Regions from separate parts of the Homo sapiens genome. Here region 1 is linked to region 2. The links are contacts of gene promoters, found by promoter capture Hi-C in blood cells and fetal thymus (Javierre and others, 2016). All regions are on one chromosome and are shown on one strand. The core of a region is centred on a gene start or on the middle of the fragment in contact, and the rest is flanking DNA. Distances in the headings are between cores, read along the strand shown.

The links. The method cuts DNA at HindIII sites, captures the fragments that hold promoters and counts their contacts. A CHiCAGO score of 5 or more calls a contact.
Region 1: a contact is called between a fragment that was not itself captured here and the fragment with the promoter of AP2M1 in region 2, in 1 of 17 cell types (M1 macrophages). The highest score is 5.4, in M1 macrophages.

What each region holds. Positions count from the first base shown.
Region 1 is chr3:183,918,355-183,921,986 of GRCh38, forward strand. It overlaps ABCC5 (ATP binding cassette subfamily C member 5), which reads right to left. Exons shown (of 30, transcript NM_005688.4): 30 at 1,580-3,047. The coding sequence ends at 2,946. Among named protein-coding and RNA genes, the nearest start is that of MIR4448, 33 kb to the left of the region's middle. The HindIII fragment of the contact is 1,722 bases long and covers 940-2,661 here.
Region 2 is chr3:184,173,402-184,177,042 of GRCh38, forward strand. It overlaps AP2M1 (adaptor related protein complex 2 subunit mu 1), which reads left to right and starts at 1,454. Exons shown (of 12, transcript NM_004068.4): 1 at 1,454-1,558; 2 at 3,550-3,641. The coding sequence starts at 3,593. It overlaps DVL3 (dishevelled segment polarity protein 3), which reads left to right. Exons shown (of 15, transcript NM_004423.4): 15 at 1-213. RefSeq lists enhancers at 1,502-1,571, 3,104-3,641 and a silencer at 1,782-1,831. The HindIII fragment of the contact is 5,273 bases long and covers 935-3,641 here.

The DNA.
Region 1 (3,632 bases), core at 551-3,050, 250 kb before region 2:
AGGAACAGCTTGAACTCTGGGAGCAGGCTGTTTGGGTTTGAATTCTGTGTGATTCACTTCATACTGGATATTGGCTTGAGACAAGTTAAATCTTCACGAGCCTTTCCTCATCAGCAAAATGTGCTTAATTTTAGCTACCTTGTAAAGTGGTTGAGAAAATCACGTAAGGCCATGCTAGAAGTACCTAGTACAGTGCTTAGCTTACAGGTGCCCCTGAGTTCTAGCCAAGAAAACGAGCACAGAAGCGATGTCTAATGTTTTCAGGCCTGTTTCATAACACTTTCTGCTCAACATTCTGTGCTCTCTTCTCTGATCAGCACAGTGGATCCAGCAGAGAAGCTCAAATCTAGAGGTTTGCAGGGTGACCAGGAGGGAGGGAGACTGGGTTCCTGAACGCACGGGCAGAACCTTCATTCCACCCCTCCACAGACCACACTGCTTTGCTACAGGAGTTTGGTTACTGTGGTAAACTGCTGAAAGTCTGGGCTTGTTTCTTACACCTGTTAGCCTACTCTACTTGGCAACAGAGAATTATGAGCTGGGAAAGCACAAAATGGCAAAATGGAAATTGCTTTTAAAAATCCAATTTAGGCTGGGCACAGTGACTCATGCCTGTAATCCCAGCAGTTTGAAGGGTCTCGTTCTGCTGACCTTGTTACCTTCTTGGAAGATAAATCTAGTGCCTCAGTAAAAGTGGTTACCGTTTAGATTGGAGCTGCCCAACAGAACTTCCTGCAATGATCGACACGTCCTATATCTGCACTGTACATTACTATGTTGTACAGGTCGCATACAGCTACTGAGCGCTTGAAATGTGACACTCTAGGAACTAAAGTTTTAACTTTAGAGTCAAGCTCCTGGGTTCTCACGACAGCACAGGTACTTTAGAAAAATTAGTATAATTTCTACTGATGGCCAGCAAACTAATACCAGTTTAAAAGCTTTCTTGGCTGCATTCAACACAATATAGTCAGAAACTTTAGAATGAGTACCCTTTGCTTTTTTTTTTTTTTTTTTTTTGAGACGGAGTCTCACTCTGTCGCCCAGGCTGGTGTGCAATGGCACGATCTCAGCTCACCGCAACCTCCACCTCCGAGTTCAAGTGATTCTCCTGCCTCAGCCTCCTGAGTAGCTGGGACTACAGGTGCCTGCCACCACACCAGGCTAATTTTTGTATTTTTAGTAGAGACGGGGTTACTAATTTTCAATGGGTGAATCTGAATGAATTGGCTGAAAGGGTAATTATATTGTTTGAATTGCTAAGAATCCTCGATAAACTATTCATTTTAAATACATCTCACCACGACCACCCACCTCACCACAACCACTCACCTTTCCACTCCCCACCCTCTTATGGGCAGCCAAGGAGCTTTATTTGGGGACCATGTCCAGGAACACAGGCAGCGGGACTAAGGCCCACAGAGATGATTCCAGGTGTTCAGGGCCCCATGGCCCTTGCAACCAACCAGCTTTGCTACCAGTCCTTCCCAGATGCAACTCCATTGCTGGATATGCAGGTCCCAAAGCCATTCAGGGATATCTCACTCCCTTCCCAGAGAATTGTTTGATACACGAAGAGTTTTACAAAATCCAAAATAATTTTATTCACATTTTCAGATTTTTGCTTCCACAAGGTGTTCAGCAAACATGCTAAGGCGACAGAATGTCTAGTTGGTCACGACATGCAACGCTGACCATTCAATTGATGACAGCAGTGACCACGCCCACCTGAGCTACCAGCCCCACAGCACAAAGGGGGTTTGCGGGAACACACCAAACCACACAGCAACCAGCAACCTGAGGTAGGTCTCTTTACAGTACAAAAACTTCTACGCCAGTGTGAGACACTGATTAGCAAGAGCTGCTTAAAGTTGCAGACTTTGAGGGGAGAGAGAGAGAGAGACTGTGCGACGACTGCGGTGAGAAAGGAAAACAGACCCACGAAATCCTGAGCCCTGCCACTGAACTGTGGAGGTGTGGGAATAGGCAAATGAAAAAGTGCCACCTCAAAAAGCAGCAGTTGGCTCCAGGGCTTGGAACCAACAGGTCTTGGAGCTGGAGAGCTCTGTGCAGTGGCCAGCCATAGGAACCTGAGGCAGTGGGACTCTCTGTGGATAGACTGATTCTTGTTTAGAAACAACAGCAAAAAGAAGAAGGCAGGAAAGAAACTCCCCGGCTCGGAGGAATGTCTCTGTGATCCCCATTCTTGATGGAGGGAGTGAAAAGGGGCCTGGGCTTCGCCCCGCTGCTCTCCTGACAGAAACAGTAAGTGACACCAGGACAGAAGGCAGGAGCCCTGAGAACTCACGGCGCTCTGCATGGTCTCCAGCCGCCCACCCGTCTCCAGCCACCCCTGGAGCGGCCGTGGGGAGGCGGCAGAGGGGGCTGTCGGAGGGCCCACTATTGCCACACGTCTTCCTTTGGACACCCAGAAAACCTGGCACCGTGAAACCACCAGCTAGAGAAGAATGAAATGCTACTCTTCCTACAGTCTAATAGCAAAACCAGATCTCTAGTACAGCAAACTGTACAAAAATGATAGAAAGGAATATGCACTGTTATTAGCACAGTGCTTATTTTAATATAAAATAAACAGCTTACATTTTCACTGTAAATATAGGCTATGTACAGAATTATATATAGATATAGCTACACGTATAAAGCTTCATTATAGGCCTCTGATACAATTATAATAACGGTTCCCTGAACCTTTTAGAGTGCAATTAAGAACAAAAACTAAATTTTGTTTACATGAATATGGAATAAATACAATAATCAAAATATGACTCTCCCTAAAAGTGAAACACACAAGCCAATCCGGAACTGCTGTGCGAAAGATAAAATCGAGAAAGGCAAGGTTTCGGTAGGAGGACGCGATGAGGGGCCCGCCCCAGGCAGGGAATGGCAATGCTCTAAAGAAAAGAGACTTCGTCAACAGGGAGGAGTCAGCCCTTGACAGCGACCTTGTTCTCTGCAGCAGCAAACATGGCATAGAATCGGGAACTGTCGTTGGACAGAAGGACCGATGGGGTGTCAAACTCCACCACCTGCAAAAGAAGGAGACGCCGTCAGGACACAGCTCTGGGTCATGCAGGGTGATTCAGAGGATCCACGGCTCAGTAAGTGCCAGTGCCCTCTGAGGGTAGAATCTGGGGACAATTCAACTAGCCCTGCGTGCACCTCCCCCCTTATTTTTTTATTTTCAACTATCCAGGGAGTAAGGGAAAGGACAGAGAAAATGACTTCCAGCATTTTTGTAGTATGTGGTTTTGCCTAATAAAGTAGTATCATAGCAAAAAAAAAAAAAGAAAACGACTTCCAGACCTCCTTCACATAAATCCAAATTCCTTCAGCCTTGGGAGTGAAGGAACCAACCAACCAGGTCTATAAACTGCAGGAGGCTGGTGGCTCACGCCTGTAATCTCAACACTTTGGGAGGCTGAGGTGGGCAGACTGCCTGAGGTGAGGAGTTCAAGACCAGCCTGGCCAACATGGTGAAACCCTGTCTCTACTAAATATACAAAAATTAGCTGGGCATGGTTGGCGGGTGCCTACAATCCCAGTGACTTGGGAGGCTGAGGCAGGAGAATCGCTTGAACCCAGGAGGTGGAGGTTGCAGTGAACTGAGATTG
Region 2 (3,641 bases), core at 204-2,703:
TTTGAATTCCAGCTCTACTATTTTTGGTTGTGTGATAGAGTTATTTAACCTCTCTGAGCCTCAGTTCCCTCGTATGTAAAATGATGATAATAATACCTACCTCACAGGGTTGTTGTGAGGATTTAAATTAGATATTGTACGAAAAGTGCCTAGCACAGTGCCTGGCACACAGTAGAGTAGGTGCTCAATAAATGGTAGCTATTATTATTATTATTTTATCATTATTATTATTTACTCTAAATTGGTAGCAGTTTAGGGTATTTTTGGAAGATAAAGCTTTTGCAAAGGTAGAAGTGAAGCCTTGAGTGCTGGTTCAAAAATTAGAAGTGCCTGTATTCAGTCACTTAATGACTTCAGGCCGTGACTATGATGTGAGAGAGGTCAGATCTTCATCCTGCCACATCGTGGCTTCTGGCTGGAGGCTGGGAAGGACTGTAACATTTGCAACCAGATCTGTCCTTTCTTGCCCTTCCTTCCTCCCATGACAGGCGTAGTCCTGCCCAAGGAAGGCAGCAGTTTATCTCTGCCTACAGAAAGAGAAGAGCCAACAGATTTTCTTAAGACTCTGCAAGAACCAAGCAGGCCTTTCATGTGTGAGGGTTGGGTCTGTCTCCTCAGCTTGGATGTAAAGATTCTGTTTATCAAAGAGGGGATTTCAAATCCCATGTCAAACTAAATTCAACTCTTCGAACGTCTTCTAAGCAACATATATGCCTGTCACTAGAAGGCATACACAGTCGCATAGGTATAGCTAAGGAGAACATCGGCTCGTTCATGAAAAGCTGTAGCTGACCTCCGGGAAGAGTGTACAGTCATGGACTTATTTGTGAAAAGGTTTAGTTTCTTCCAAGTAGTCGCCTCCTTCCTCCCCGCTCCTCTCCTTGGGTCTTGATCCCTTGGAAAAAGCTCATGTCCGGAACAAATATATGAGAAAAGCTTGAGAGAATCAGAGGTAGTGTTAGAAAGCAGTAAATTCAGCACAAACACTTCTACTGCCCAGTTGTATTTATTTGTGTGTAAAGTGAGGACAGCCAGTCCTGGGACTCTGGAGACAGAAAAGGCCTACAGCAATCCAAGGCTTAACAGATGTGCTTCCACAAATGGCATTAATATCCCAAAGCTCTCCAGAACACAAATAGGAACAGGAGGAAGTGCAGGGACTACAATTCCCAGAGCGCTCAGTGAAAAAAAAAAAAAAAAAAAAAAAAAAAAAAAAAATGAGGCGGGTGGAGCGGTGTATGCTGGAATGTGTATTTCTGGTAGGGCCGACTAAGGCCACGCCTACCCCTTCCTGAGGCGGGGGCGGTTTCTCGAAGGCAGTCGGTAGTTGTAGTTTTGCTAAACCTAGAGCGCTTCAAATTGCAAGCAAGGAGGCCGCGAGGCCTGACGGGATTTGTAGTCGGCGCTAGACGCCGGCGCGCACGCGCAGCCGGGGCCGGGGCGGGGCGGCGGCACTGCGGTGAAAGCCGAGGCAGCGGGCAGACGAGCAGGGGGCGGGCGGACATCTTGGGATCCGGAGAGTGGCCGGGCCGGCAGAGCAGGGGGCCGAGGACACCAGGTGAGCCGGGGATCTGGCCTTATGGCGTGGAGGAGGACGCTGCGGGTCGTCTGCCTCGCCGCGCAGCTTTGTCCTGCCCTGCACTGAGCTGGCGGAAAGCTGCCCACACCCGGGAGTGGCTTCAGCCTTCGGACCCGGGAGCTAGCTGACGGTGGGGCGGGGGCGCCCGGGGCGCGATTGCAGGGCTGGCGGGGAGCGGTGCCCTCCACCTGACCCGCCTGGCGCCTCCCATGAGAGGGATACCGCTTGGAATCCTCCCAGAGCAGGAACGCTGCGCAGCGCCCCCTCCCTAGGATCGTGCCAACCCCCTACCCCTCCGCGCAAGGACAATTTCCCCGTCTCGTAGGACAGTGACACCCCTTTGTGCCGCCGCCTTGCACCGTGACAGGTCTCACGCCATGCGGCACCCCCTCCTCTTAGTTCAGTGGCACCCCGCGGCTCTTCTTCCTTAGACCTGTGACAGCCCCCGCACCCCCATGGCACCATCTTTTCCCACAATGTCCTCCCCAAGGCGAAAAGCCTACCACCCTCTCATTACTCTGCACCTGAACCCCAAGCAGGCTCTGTCTCCCCAGCTTTCCCTTATTCACCACTGTCAGTTCCCCCGGCCGGTTTTTCCTTCTTAAAGCCTTGACCTTTTCCATACTGGAAACCCTTACCTTTACGTTCACTCCACCAGCCCAGTTTGCTGCTGTGGGCTCACCTGAGGACGCTGCCTGGCTTTCACTGAAGGTCTTTCCCCTTAACTAAATGTTCCATTCTTGCCCAAGGCCCCCCTCTGGTTCTCGGGTGCCCTTCGCTACCTACCACTCGATACCTGTGGACTTGGTGCTTTGCCCCAGGCTCTACCTCCATTTTGCATCTCCTCTCCCAGCCTGTTTGGGACTGAGGGATGGGATGAGTCCACCACCTTGAGAGACCGCTCACCCCTCTGGAAGACCTTGACAGCCACAGGAAAAGGCTTTATTTTCCAGTTTAGAAAAGTCCTCTAAAGTACTCCCTGTGAAATTAATACCAGGGCTAATCCAGGAAATCTAAAACCAAATTAATGCCTTTTCTCAAACAGTCTAAATTAATTTGACCCAAATAATTTGGATAATTCAGGCATCCTGACATCCCTGCTTCTTGCTTATAGGCACCCAGGCCAGAAATGAGTTACTTCATGGGCCTGGAATCACGATTTCAGATGGAAGGATTTCTTAATTTTATGAGCCTGCGCCACCCCCACCCCCCAGTCCTTATTTTTATTGCATTCCAGAGCTTTTTGAAAGGGGGGTGGTAATCAGAAATAACTGTAATAAGCAGCTTGGGTGATGGAAGTGTAGTCTGCCAGCCCTAGGACCTTCCTCCTGTGCCCTTTGCCTGCTTATTCCACTGCCTGGAAGAGGTTAAGCCACACTCCCGGGTCCACATTAGGGCCTAAGGGCTCCCTTCTCTTCTCCTTATACCCTTTCCTGGAATGTTTGAATTCTGTGAATTAGAGTGCCGGAAGTTCAGGCCCTGCGACCTTCTCTGAAGGGTAGTGGAGCCCAAGAGACTGGATGCTCTAAAGGTTATGCCTGGGGGCCCCAGGCCTGAACCAACTGGAGTAATGCCTACCGCCATTCCTGCAGCCGCAGGCAGGCAGGCAAGCCTTAGTGAGTCACTGGCGGGAGCCCGAGAGTCTGCACAGGAGGGGGCCGAAAAGGATCATTCCTGAGCTCAGTGCTGGGGAGAGGGGGCGGGGGTTACTGATGCTCAGCCCCAGGAAAGGGAGGGTCAAAATGGCCTTAGAATCCTGGGCCTAATCTCTCTCTGTTTCTTTCTCCCATCTAGTGTGGAATAAACAGGAACTGGAGCCTGGCTGAGGGGAGGGGCATGTCTGGGAGGGCTGCAGGGTCACTTACTAAAGGGTTGAGTCAGGAAAGAAGCTCCAGTGACCTGCACAGCTCCACAGGGGATGTTGGCAGCGATTCTGAGGTCTTCTTTTACCCTGCCCCCGCCTGTCCTAGGTCTGTTCTCAGAGCGATGGGCCGCGGAGACTGATCTGCCGCCATGATTGGAGGCTTATTCATCTATAATCACAAGGGGGAGGTGCTCATCT